Regions from separate parts of the Homo sapiens genome. Here region 2 is linked to region 1. The links are contacts of gene promoters, found by promoter capture Hi-C in human tissues and cell types (Jung and others, 2019). All regions are on one chromosome and are shown on one strand. Each heading gives the region's core, a stretch centred on a gene start or on the middle of the fragment in contact. The rest is flanking DNA. Distances are from core to core; before and after follow the strand shown. Region 1 holds the start of DNAJB8 (DnaJ heat shock protein family (Hsp40) member B8). Region 2 has its middle 34 kb from the start of LINC01565.

The links. The method cuts DNA at HindIII sites, captures the fragments that hold promoters and counts their contacts. A contact is called where the count stands out against the background at its distance.
Region 2: a fragment that was not itself captured here is called in contact with the fragment with the promoter of DNAJB8 in region 1 in 2 of the 25 tissues and cell types used here (H1 embryonic stem cells and IMR-90 fibroblasts).

The regions. Positions count from the first base shown.
Region 1 is chr3:128,462,976-128,469,971 of GRCh38, forward strand. DNAJB8 (DnaJ heat shock protein family (Hsp40) member B8) reads right to left here and starts at 3,915. Exons shown (of 3, transcript NM_153330.6): 1 at 3,639-3,915; 2 at 2,301-2,461; 3 at 1-1,135. The coding sequence starts at 270. DNAJB8-AS1 (DNAJB8 antisense RNA 1) reads left to right here and starts at 619. Exons shown (of 3, transcript NR_037890.1): 1 at 619-752; 2 at 925-1,138. The HindIII fragment of the contact is 25,608 bases long and covers 1-6,996 here.
Region 2 is chr3:128,538,974-128,545,969 of GRCh38, forward strand. No RefSeq gene overlaps it. Among named protein-coding and RNA genes, the nearest start is that of LINC01565, 34 kb to the right of the region's middle. The HindIII fragment of the contact is 5,343 bases long and covers 1,095-6,437 here.

The DNA.
Region 1 (6,996 bases), core at 2,665-5,164:
GCCGGTGTCGAAGGGGCTGTGGTAGGGCGTGCTGGCCCCGCCACCAGCCCGCCAGCTGTCACAGCCAGCACGGTCATACAGGGAGCGTTTCTTGGAGTCAGACAGAACCTCATAGGCCTCAGACACCAGCTTGAACTTCTTCTCCGCCTCCTCCTTATTGTCAGGGTTCTTGTCGGGGTGCCAACGAAGGGCCAGCTTGCGGTAGGCTTTCTTGATGTCCTCCGGGGAAGCGCTGGCCTGCACGCCCAGCACTTCGTAGTAGTTAGCCATGGCCAGGGGTGTGGGTGAGAGGAGAGGGAACGTGGAGGCCAGGTGGGCGCAGGGGCCCAGCTGGTCAGATGGACGGGGGAGAAGTGGCCGGTGGTCTGGGGCCCTTCAGCAGGGGCCTGGCTGGACTCCGCAAGCTCTAGGCAAGATTCTGCCCAGGAGTTCACCTTTTCGTAGTACCAATTCTCAGGGACTGGAGGGGCCCCCACTGAGAGGAGTGGGGGGAGGGGAGGGACACTGCCGCTGTGGGGCCAGGCCAGAGTGGGCTGCCCTCCAGAGCTCCTTTTATGACGTCAGCTCCCGGGGCGGGGCATACCCCCGCCCCCAGCTCCTCACCAGGCAAACCTGGGCATATGGGCCTGCCCCTGCTGGTGAGGTGGCCACAACGGTGTGTGGGAATGGGATGCTCTGTGACCCAGGTGGTGTGGGCTGAGTCCCGGGAGCCAAAGGGCAGAGGCAGGATCAGCCACGGGATTCCAGCCTTGGTGAGTGACAAAGGTCTGTGGCCGTGGTGGGGGAGGCGGGCAAGGGCGTCCTGGGTATGTCCACTCGGCCGATGGCTGGGCAGCAGCTGAGGCAAGAGGAGGCCAAGGTGGGGTTCAGGCAGGCTGGGGTGGGGACAAGAGCCTGCTTTTTTTGTGCCCATTATCTGGCCAGGTCTTCCGGGGTAAGCTCCACAAAGGCGGGAAAGTCTGTCCCTGTCTAGGACAGTGGCTGGCACACGAGGGCCGTCGGTAAACTCTTGGATGAACCAGGCTCAGAGACACACAGTGCTCAAGGTCACACAGCGAGTCAGTGAGGGAGGGGATGTGAAACCAGGGCCAAGGCTGCAGCGGACAGCAAATCCAAAGAAGTGTTCCACTCAATTCTGGTAAGAAAAATAGGAATTGATGATAAATATTGATTACTGACTGTAGTGGGTTGAATGGTGGCCCCCAAAAAGATATGTTCCTATCCTAATCCTTGGAACCTCTGAATGTGAGCTTATTTGGAAAAAGGATCTTTTCGGATGTAATTAAATTAAGGATGTCGAGATGAGATCATCCTGGATTATCTGAGTGGGCCCTAAATCCAGTGACACATGTCCGTATAGGAGATGGACACTGACGCAGCTGGAAGCTGGGGGCCAGGAGGGTTCTCCCTGCAGCCTCCAGAGGGAGTGCGGCCCCACTAACACCTCGATTTCAGACCTCTGGCCTCCAGAACTGGGGGAAGAGATTTCTTTTGTATTGAGCTACCCAGTTTGTAATAATTTGTAACAGCCCTAGAAAACGAATCAGGTGAGTGAGGTAACCAAATATTCTTAGGCATTTATATTCCTTTAATTCTTGTTCTGGTGTTGGATCATATATAGAAACAGCAATTCACAATACTGATTAATATCTGTTCCTACCTTCACCTCACCCCACTCCAATTAAGATCAAAACCATGCTAAACCACCTACTAACCACACCAATAAAGAGCCTAGATGTTTGGGTCACCAAGTCTTAACTAAAGATAGCCTTCCTGCCTGCCTTCTTTCCTTCCTCCCTTCCTCCCTCCCTCCTTCCCTCCTTCTTTCCCTTCCCTTCCCTTCCGTTCCCTGCCTTCCTTCCCTCCTCCCTCCCTCCCTTCCCCCTCCTTCCTTCATTTCCTCCTTCCTTCCTTCCTTCCTTCCTCCCTTTCTCCTTCCTTCCTTCTTTCTTTCCTTCCTCCCTCCCCTTCCCCCTTCTCCCTTCCCTCCCTTCTTCACTCCTGGCTTCTTTCCTTCCTCCTTCCTTCCTTCATTCCTCCCTTCTTCCTCCTCTTCCTTTTTCTAGTCTTCATCCCTTTCTATTATCCTCCCTCTCTCTCTTTTCTTTCAGTGCTCATGGGTGCTAGGTTTCAGGCTCCTAGCAGGGGACAGTGTGTGTTCTAACCAATCCCAAATGCCAGGAGGAATGGAGACAGACTGTAGAGACACTTTGTAAACCCAGCCTCCAGTGACCATCGCTGTCCCTCCATGCAGCTTATCAAAAGCACGACTCGCACCCCCATGCTGGGCATCCACCCACCTACACCTGCTGACACATGTGGCTTAGCAGAGGAGTTGAAGAGCAGAACTTCTCCACTGGATGTAGCTACAGATGAACCTGATTCTTTATCTCTGTGGCTGGATTTTTGTCACTATGTCTCGGTTAGCAGTTAGCACCTGCTGTCCCTTGCAGGCTTGTTCCTGGGGCGGGAGAAAGATGCTTGCCCTGCACAGTTCTCCATGATGGCGGTGGCAGTGGGAGAGGCACTGCTGTTGACTGTGTTGCTGGTGGGGAGAGGCACGGTGGGTGTCCATGGAGATGGATAAGGTGTCATTATATAGTAGAGGTGACCATGGGAGCAGTGTTGATGTGGAGGTAATGGTCATGGTGGGTGTGAGGGGGAGAGTAATTATGGGTGATGGTGGAGTTGATCATGATGATGGTGATGCTGGTGGTGACAGCAGCAAGGCTTGTGCTTGAGAGTAATTGATGATGGTAGTGGTGGTGGTGATGGTCATGCCAGAGGAGATGGTAACAGCGAGCCTTTGTTGTGGTTGGCAGTGATGGTGCAGGTATGATGAGGAGGTGATGGGAATGGCTCCTAGTGAGCCATTGGTGTGGTTGGCAGTGGTGACAGTAATGGTGATGATGAAGGTGAAGGTGGTGGAGGTAGCAGAGGTTGTATCTTGTTCGGCTATACCACAGTGACAGCTTCCACCTCTCAGTGGCTCACGACAAACATCTAGTTCCCCCCACTTCACTCACTGGTGCCTACAGGCAGCTGCCAGGGCCCCACCTCCCATAGCTTCTCACTGTGGGTCCCAGGCTGGAGAATCAGCTCTGACCTGCACACCCCTCTCTCATGACAGTGCCACTCAGAGACAGCAGGAACTTGGGCTGCCTCTGAAAGCTTCTGTTGGGCCATGATGTGTGGCAGTCTTGCTGCATCCCATGGTCAAGGCCAGTATCCATGGGGCAAAGAATGTTTCCTTCAGGAAGGTTCTGCAAATCTCAGGGCAATAGGAAGAGAGGCCTGAGATTCCCATGGGGAAGAGGGAGTGAGCAGTTCTCCAACATATGCCAGATGCTCAAGATGGGACTGACAGCGGGGCTGGTAACGATGGCTCTGCTGGGAGCAGTGTTGGTGCTGCTGGTGCCGGGGACACCCGTGGTGGTGATGGGATAGGAGGCAGGAATTGTGCTATTAATGGAGGATGGTGGTGAGGGTGGTTGTGGAAGAGGCAATGGTAGAGGGGGGTGCCGAGGGGTGAGAAGGACACAGTGGTGGACATGCTGGTGTGAGTGCCGATGGCGATGGTGATGGCACTGAGGTGTGGGGCTCTGTATTTTCTGTTGCTAACTTGGCATTACACCAACCTCTTCCATGGTCTCCTTGCATCCTGGAGAAATCTGAGGGATTTTCCAGAATCCCATCACCGGTATAATTCCAGACTAGAGCCTGCCAATACAAGGGATTTGGAGAGTGGAAAAGAGAGGCCGTTGCAGGCAGGTGACAATGGTGAGCTTTGCAACAGCTCGGGGCAATCTTCTGCGAAGACCCTGCTTCTGAGCCACAGGCTGAGGCATGGATGGGGAGCTTCCTGGAATACCGTGAGCTCCTCAGCAGCTCCCAGGCAAGCTCTAGAGAGCCGCTCACCTGGGAGCTGCAGGTGAGCATCTCGATTCCTTGTTCCCTGACCGCTGGTCCCAGACTGTTCAGGGTGCAGCGTGTAGTAAATGTCCTCCTCCTTGGTACACATTTGAGGGCTGTGTACTGTGAGGGTGATGGCGGCTCAGATGAAGGTGGTGGTTGTGATGGAGTTGGGTGTGAGGATAGCAGAGAGAAAGCAGATGGTGACATCAGGAAGGCATTGGAGGGGCAGTGGTGGTGGCAGTGATGATGGTGGCAGTCTAATTAGAGGCAGTGGTGGGTCTGGCTGAGGCAGACCCGGTGGTGGTGATGGTGGTGGTAGTAGAGGGGGCAATGACGGTGGTGATGGCAAAGGCGGTGTGAGTGGTTGATACTGGTGGCAGAGCTGATAAGGTGATGTCACAGATGGGATGGTGGGTGGAGATGGAGGTGGAGGAAGTGTGGTGACAGTGATGTGGTGGTGACACAATGCTGACACGGGTGGAGAGCACCGTGGTGACGGTGACAGAGATGATAGTGATAGTGGGGCTGGTGGCAGTGGTAGAGGAGATGGGGATGGGACGCTGGGGTGTTGATGGTGATGGTGACACTGCTGAGGGTGTTGGTGGCCTGACATTGTAAAGGTGAAGCCTGAAGTTTCCATGACGATGGAATCAGGACAGTGGAGGAGGGGTGGTGAAAACAATGTTAAGAGACAAAGGACCTAGTATGATGAGGCATCCAAGAATCCTGTGGCCGCCTCCCCGTCCTGGCCCTCCCTGCCTTGTTGGAGACCCTGGCTCTGGTCTGCGTTGTACTCCCAGGGGAAATTTCTTCCAGCCACTGCCCTGCTCCAACCCTTGTTCCTGGGATGGGTCTGTGGGAGTCAGCCAGGATGGAGACAGGGCTGGAGACCCCCTCACTGCCGCCCATTCAGGGCTGTCTTAGGGCACACAGAACAGACCACTCGGTAGGACTTACGGGAACAGGTGTGTCACCTGGGAGCAGGTCCCACACCTCACCATCAAGGGCATCCTGAGATGGAGGCCCCTGTGGGGAGCTCCCCATGAAGGGAGCTGTGGACCGTGGAGCCGGGCAGTGTGCAGAGGAGTTTCCCTTCTGCAAAGGGTTCAGGCTAGTCTCCTTCCACGCCAGTTTTTGGGGAGCCAGTGGGGAGCATCAGGGGCTCTGAGGCCTCCATAGGGCCTGCTGGAGGGACAGGGACACACAGGCATGAGCGCACACTTAGGCCCCACACGCTCCACCGTCAATTCTGTCAGGCCACCTCCCCTCTTCAAGCCTCTCTGTCCTCATTCACCAGTGGGTGCTTTTGGGGATTTGCCCTCTCTGGGGAGCCAGCCTAGGCTTCCTGGCCTCAGATGTCCCATGTCCCTCATCTCAGGCCCACCCTAAAGCCAACCCCGAGCCATGGCCAGGGAGAGAAGGACCTTCAGCGACCAAGCGAGGCCCAGAGAGGGCAGGGCACACCGAAGGTCACACAGCAGTACCAGGAAGGTCTCCCCCGGGCGAGCTGATGGAGCCGATTAAGCAGCCAATTGGTATTCGGAGCAGCCAGAGGCCCCTCTCTGTCTCTGTAATTAATGGAGTGGCTTTTTAAAAGGATTCTAATCACCCCCGATCCTATCTGCTTATCACTAGAGTTCCTAATTAGATGATCCTGGCAGTCACTCAGCTAATTCCCTCCAGCCCCCTGCAGGCCTGCCTGGCCTGGGCAGCCCACCCCACCCCCGGCCACCCTGGCCCGGCCAGATGGGCAGTTTGGGGCCTTCTCTCCCCTCAGGGCCCCTGGTCCTCTAACTGCATTAGCTCCAGGATGGATGGGCGACAGCGATGGATGGATGGACGGGCGGCTGGATGGACAGAGTGGCAGGCGAATGAAGGGGCTGAACGGTGGGCAGTCACAGAGTGGATGGGCGGATGGACAGACAGACGGGCCAAGGGGCAGATCCCACAGTGGGGAAGAGCTCAGCCTGTCAGGTGACACAGCCTGGGTTCCAACCCCAGCACTGCCACTCCCCAGCCATGTGTCCTTGGGGAAGTCAATAACCTGGCTGTGCCCCAGTGTCCTCATCTCATCTGTAAAAGGGAAGTAATGATGGTCCCCTCTCACAGGGTTACTGTGAGGAGCTCAGAATGGAGAAGGAGCTGTGTGTGCGTGTGCTGGCATCCTGGCAGTGTCGATAATGGGTGGGCAGAGACAGATGAAAGGGCAGCCTGCCTGGTGAGCCAGTGGAAGCCATGGTAGGCAGACAGGCCCATGGCAGGCTTACATGCAGATTGGTGGCCCATGGGGTGGGAAGGCGGTGGGCTACGCAACCGTAGAAGGGCCAGTGAGCTCACGTCCTCCCCAGTGGTGCCAGGGCGATCTCAGCTCTGCTCTCAGACCTCTTCAGGCAGCCTTCCTGCCCAGTCCTCCAAGCCAGTGATGACAGGTGCCCACTGGGTTGCCCAGATCCCTTCCCTGCCATCCCAACCCAGGTACATCCTTCCTGGTGGTGGCTCATGTGGTCTCTGGAGGCTCAGATCTAGCCCCAAGTAGGGGTTTACTGCCTGAGTGAAGGCATCATTTGCGGGGCCCTCTGAGTTCCAAGTTGCTTCAGCCAGTTAGGGCAGCTCCCCTCCTCCAGGGTCCCAGCACCCAGCCCCCCTGGCATACAGCAACCCTAGGCAGGGCTGTTACCCTGAGTTCCTCAGTTACTCGAAGCCTCCAGGAGGATCCAACCCCCAGAGCCTCTCCATTCACCCACGGGGCTCTGCAGTTTCCGGGGTGTGGCATTTCCGGGGTCTTTCTGGAAACAGTATAGAACAAAAAAGCCTGAAGTATCTTCCAGAGTAAAGGCGTGCATGCGTATGCACACATCTGTACCAGCAGATAGCCACCCATCTCCCCATACACACACCCATCAATCCACCCACCTAGCCACACACATACCCAGCTACCCACACACCCAGCCACTCACATACCCAGCCACTCACCCACCCAGCCACCCACATGCCTAGCCACCCACCCACCCAGCCACCCACACACCCAGCCACCCACCCACCCAGCCAGCCACTCACCCACCCAGCCACCCACACAGCCAG
Region 2 (6,996 bases), core at 2,516-5,015, 76 kb after region 1:
ATTTCCACTCTAGTTCTTTTACCCAGATTGGTATGGCCATGTTGAACTTGTTTCCTTCTGGTTGTCTTCTTTGGGTTTCCTTGTGAAAACACCCTTAACTTTCCTTTTGCCTTTAGCTGAAATGTTTACATAGCTTCTGGTGATATCTTCTCATAATTTTATGTCTCTTAAAAGGTTGACGGATGTGACACTTCAAAAAGTGAGCTTTGAACTGAAGATAACTCTTAAAGAAAATATCATTTTAGACAATTAAAATATTTATGCTCCAAAAAGATATAATTTACATATCACTTTTTCACTGTTTTTATGGCTAAATAAAATTACATGGCATCAACATTCCATACTTTGCCCATCCATTCATCAGTTGGTGGACATTTGGATTGTTTATATCCTTTAGCTATTAGGAATAATGCTGCTTTGAACATAATGTAAGTTTTTGTTTGAACATTTGTTTTCAGTTCTCTTGGATATATACCTAGGAGCAGAAGATGGGTCATATGGTAGCTTCATGTTTAACTTTTCAAGAAACTGCCTGCTTGTTTCCAAAATGGCTGCACCATCTTACATTCCCCAGAAGCAACGCAAGAGGGTTCCAATGCTTCAACATCCTCACCATTGCTATCGTCCATCTTTATTACAGCCACCCTAGCGGATGTAAAGTGGTGTCTCACTGTAGCTTTGATGTGCATTTTCTGATGCACATCATTTTACTGATGCTGAGCATTATTTCATGTGTTTGTTGCCACTTGTCTATCTTCTTTGGAGAAATGCCCATTCAAGTCTTTTGTCCATTTAAAAAATTGGATTATTTGTCTTTTTATTGTTGAGTTTAAGGAGTTCTTTATATATTCTAGACACTAGACCTTCATCAGAGATATGACTTGCAAATATTTTCTCCCATTCCGCGGCTTGTCTTTTCATTTTATTGATAGTGTTTTTGAAACACGAAGTTTTAAATATTGATGAAGTACAATTTATCTGGCTTTCCTCCCCTTTGGTTGCTTGTGCTTTTGGTGTCATATCTACGAATGCTTGCCTAGCTCAGAGATTTGTGCCTATGCTTTTTTCTAAGCAGCAGTGATCCAATCAAAGCCACATTGCAAAAAAGACCCGCAGCTGACTGTGGTGTGGCCAGTAAATGGAGAGGGCAAAGGAGCAGGTATGGGGAGGTCAGTGAGGACACTGTGGCAGTGGTCAGGGAAACAGACAGACAGATGATAGCAGCTTGGTCCAGAGTGGTGGCAGTAGGAATGGAAAGAATTGGGCAGATTTCTGAATTATTAAGGAAGACAAACCTCAGAACTGAGTCTTCCATCTCCACCGTCCACCCACGTTACTCCTCCTCAGTCTCCTAACACACTTTTTTTAAAAAGAAAAAACTACTGAGGTGTATTTTACATGTCATAAAACTCATCCATTTCAAGTATAGAATTCAACAACTTGTGGTAACAAATACAATATGTGGCCTTTTGTGACTGGCTTCTTTCAATTAGCTTAATGTTTTCAAGGTTCATCATGTTGGAGCATGTAAATGGGCTTCATTCCTTTTCATAGCTGCATAATGTTTCATTATGCCACATACTGTTTATCCATTCATCAGTTGATGAGCATTTGGGTTGTTTCTACTCTTTGACTATTATGAATAATGCTGCTAAGAACATTAATGTACAAGTTTCTGTGTGGACATATGCTTTCATTTCTCTTATTTTCATTTTATTCCACCTAGGAGTGGAATTGCTGGGTTGTATGGTAGTGTTATGTTTAACTGTTTGAGAAACCACCAAATTATTTTTGTTTTCTTTTTAAGATGAGGTCTCGCTATGTTGCCCAGGCTGGTCTTGAACTCCTGGCCTCAAGTGATCCTCCCACCTCAGCATCCCAAAGCGCTGGGATTACAGGCATGAGGCATGCCACCATTACACACCCGGCCAGCCACCAAATTATTTTCCAAAGCAGCTACACCACCTTACATTCCCACCAGCAGTGTATGAGCATTCCCATCTCTCTACACCCTCGACAGTAATTTTGGTCTGTCTAATTTACTATAGCCATTCTAGTGGGTAAGAACTCACACACACTTCTGCTTCTTCTTGGCAATGCATCCATGTGGAGCCATGCTGGGGCTTTCCAGGACTGGCTGACTTTCACCTCCACTTGTAGAAAGAAGGGACATATCTGGCAATACTGTAGCCCCAGAGCTTGGTCCAGGGCCTAGAACTAAGGATGCACCCCTGAATGGCTCCTGGATGGATAATGGGCTGGGTGAGGGAGGTACATGGTGAGGGGGATACTGGTTTCAGTGCAATTGGAGCTCAGTGATATCTGAGAAGTCTGGGGGCTGGGAGGGGAGATGTGCATATCTAAGGACACCACCCACCGTATGATAGGGTATAGAAGAGGCAGGGTAACCTGTGTAGAAAATCAGCTCCCAGCCTCCTGCTCGGACCTTACCCTCAAGGAATGCAGAACCCCCTGTGTATCCCTTTCTCCTCCTGATATAGTTTAGATATTTATCCCCACCAAATCTTCATGTTGAATTGTAATCCCAGTGTTGCAGATGGGGCCTGGTGGGAGGAGTTTTGGTCATGGGGGTGGACCCCTCATGGCTTGGTGCTGTCCTCACTGTAGTAAGTTCTCACAAGATCTAATTGTTTAGGTGTGTGCCACCTACCCCCTCCCACTCTCTCTCTCTTTTGCTCCTGCTTTTGCTATATGAGGTACCTGATCCTGCTTCACCGTCCACCATGACTGTAAGCTTCTTGAGGCCTCCCCAGAAGCCAAGCAGATGCCAGCACCATGCTTGTACAGCCTGCAGAACCATGAACCAATTAAACCTCTTTTCTTTATAAATTACCCAGTCTCAGGTATTTCTTTATAACAATGCAAGAAAAGCTGAATATACCTCCCCACTGGAGCACTAGCCCCAGACCTGTCACAAGTCAGATGTCACATATGCTTATAGAGACAAGAAAGAGGACATGGAAGTCCCAGAGGGGCTGCAGGTAGTATCCTGGCAAGGGTTGAGCTCTGGAATTGGGATGTCTGGTTTGCCCCCCTCATCTTCTTGGGGCTAGGTGAGCTCCTTGGTATCCCTAGTTGGCATTCCCAATTGGAATCTGCAGACTCACATTGCCTGGATTTTTCCTGGGCTATTTCATGTGATCCAGACCCTGGGAGTGCTTCCTCTCTCAAGAAGCTCCTTTCATGCCCTGACACAAATTCCTCAGGTCTCAACCCAACACAGAAACCCACCTCAAAGCGACTTAAGCAAAACAGGTAATACATTGGCTCATGAGACTGAACAACCATGACCCACAAGGCTGGTGTGGGGGCTCAAAAGGTGGCTTCAGGAACCAGGCTGTGTCCATTTCTTTGTTCTTGTTTCCTCCATATGTCTTGACCCACCCCACAATGGCCACAGCATCTCCATCCTTACCTCTTCCTAGCTGAGCAATCCCAGCAGAGAAAGAGTAACTTTTCTCAGCACTTCTAAAAGGAATACCATGCCTGAGTCTCTTGGGCCTGGCTTGGGGGCAATGTCACAAGGTAATTCCTCAGGGATTCCAGCCTCCTCTTTATTCAAGGGATACCTGGTCTGTGAACTGGCTTTGGTCTGGGAACTGGATAAGGGACTGTGACTCCCTATTATGGCAATTCAATTCAGGGCTCTAGTCACCTGACCTAAAGAACCTTTTTTGTTGGTGTTTAGGCAGATCAAATTATATGACTTCTGCTTCTGGTCATGATGGTATAACAGGGAGTAGACTTACCCTCCCATCTTAAACAACTAAACAAAACAAAATATGCAAAACAATGGTTTTCAGATTTTACCAACAGTGCAGGATGATGATCTCTGAGGGAATGAAAACAAATGAGGTGAGCCCCATCGCTGTGCTGTCTCATCTCTGAAGGGAGTTTCAGGCTCCAGTGCTGGGAGGGAGGCTTAAACAGATTCTTGTGGTCTCCCTGATTTACAGAGACAGTGTTCAGAAGACAAGGTAGACAGAATTAACAAGGCAGAGTACCAGAAAGAGAGCTGAAGAGAGGGGGTAGGTGGTACTGAAATTCTGCACAGGGCTCTCCTTGGTTAGTCAGTGGAATACTGATCATTGCATGTATGTGAAGAAACTTGTGAGGCTAGGTAAAGAACCACGGAAAAGTAGCAGACAGAACAATCCCTAGGGTTGACACAGGGCCAGGAAGTGTTCATGTTCCCACTGGCCAGAATGGAACTCAACAATGGGGCCAAATTAGTCCTAGATTAAAGGCTATTCTGGGTCAATGCTTAAAAGCAAGTCACAAAAGAATCAAACTCTATCCCAGAACAAAGCACAAACAGACAAAAATCCAGCACCCAGGATCAAAACACTTATAAATCTGCTATTCAATCAAAAATCATCAGACATGCAAAGAAACAGGAAAATATAAGGAGAAAAATTAATCAATAGAAACAGATCAACAAATGACACAAATGATAGAATTATTAGATTATGGCATTAAGACAACTATTATAAAAATACTCAACATGTTCAAGAAGGGAGAAGAAAACATGAACATGATGAAAAGAGAAATTGAACATATAAAAAAGTCAAAAATTAAGCTTCTACAAATAAAAACTACAATGGATGGGATTAACAGCATATTAGACATTGCAGAAGAAAAATAAAGCAGGAAAAAAAGGAAAAACAAAGAACAGATGGCATAGAAAGAAACTAGCAATATGCTAGAATTAAATTCAGCCATATCAATCATCACAGTAAATGTAAATGTTCTAACATTCTAACTAAAAGGCACAGATTATCAGATCAAAAAAAAATTTTTTTTTTGAGATGGAGTTTTGCTCTTGTTGCCCAGGCTGGAGTGCAATGGTGCGATCTCGGCTCTCTGCAACCTCTGCCTCCCGGGTTCAAGAGATTCTCCTGCCTCAACCTCCTGAGTAGCTGAAATTACAGGCCTCCACCGTCATGCCTGGCTAATTTTTTTGTATTTTTAGTACAGATGGGGTTTCACCATGTTGGCCAGGCTGGTCTCAAACTCCTGACCTCAGGTGATCCACCTGCCTCGGCCCCCCAGAGTGCTGGGATTACAGACGTGAGCCACTGTGCACAACCAAATTTTTTTAAAATAAGACCTAACTATATGCTGTCTACAAGAAATCCATTTTAAATATAAAAGCTACAGATAGGTTAAAAATTTTTAAGTGGAGTGTAAATATATATATATTTCATTTGTATATATTATTATATATTATATATTTTATAATACATAAATATATAATATATTTCACTATATATTATTTCATATATATTCCATATATAATATGCATATTCATATATAATATGCATATTCATATTTGCCATATATAATATGCATATTCATATTTACCACATATAATATGCATAGTCATATTTACCACATATAATATGCATAGTCATATGTAATATGCATATTCATATATAATATGCATGTTCATATTTACCATATATAATATGCATATTCATATTTACCATATATAATATGTATATTCATATTTACCATATATAATATGCATATTCATATATACCATATATAATATGCATATTCATATTTACCATATATAATATGTATATTCATATTTACCATATATAATATGCATATTCATATTTACCATATATAATATGCATATTCATATATAATATGCATGTTCATATATACCATATATAACATGCATATTCATATTTACCATATATAATATGCATATTCATATATACCACATATAATATGCATATTCATATATAATATGCATATTCATATATACCACATATAATATGCATGTTCATATTTACCATACATAATATGCATATTCATATATGCCATATATAATATGCATGTTCCATATATTATATATTCCATATTATATATATTCTATATTGTATATGTTTCATATATATAATATATATTCCATATTGTATATATTTCATATATATAATATATATATTCCATATATATAATACACACATACCATGAAGTTACTCTTTTTGAAAAGCTGGGATGCTATACTAATATCATATAAAATAGATTTCAGGACAAGAACTATTGCCAGGAATAAAGAGGGACATTCCATAATGATAAAGAGTTACTTAGTCAAGAAAACATAAAAATCCTAAATATTAATGCACCTAATAACATGACTTCAAAATATATGAAGCAAAAACTAAAAGGAAAAATAGACAAATCCACAGTTATGGCTGGAGATTTCGACACATCTTCTCAATAACTGACAGAACAAGCAGACAGAAAATCAATAAACTTATAGAACAGAGGTCTGAAAACAGATTAGCCTTGTTTTTGTAAATAAAGTTTTATTGGAAAACAACCACAAACACTTTTTTATATACTGTTGGTGACTGCCTTCATGCTATAATGGCAGAGTTCAGTAGTTGAGTTGCAACAGAGATGGTATGGCCTCCACTGACAAAAATATTTATAATCTTATAATGTGGCTCTTTAAAAAAAGTTTGCCAATCTTTTTTTTTTTTTTTTTTGAGACAGAGTCTCGCACTGTCACCCAGGTGTGAGTGCCGTGGCGCAATCTCGGCCCACTGCAACCTCTGCCTGCCAGGTTCAAGCGATTCTCCTGCCTCAGCCTCCTGAATAGCTGGGATTACAAGTATGCGCCACCATTTCCAGCTGATTTTTGTATTTTTAGTAGAAACAGGGTTTTACCATGTTGGTCAGGGTGGTCTCGAACTCCTGACCTCAGGTGATTCACCTGCCTTGGCCTCCCAAAATGCTGGGATTACAGGCATGAGCCACCACACCCAGCCTGCCAATCTCTGATATAGAAGACATGAACAACATCATCAAACAACTTAACCTAATTACTGTTTATAGAACACTCCATCCAACATCTGAATACATATCTTTCAAGTACACAGAAAGCGTTAGCCAAAACAGACTGTATTCTGCACCATAATGGAAGTGTCAATATATTTTAAAGGGTGAAAATCATACTAA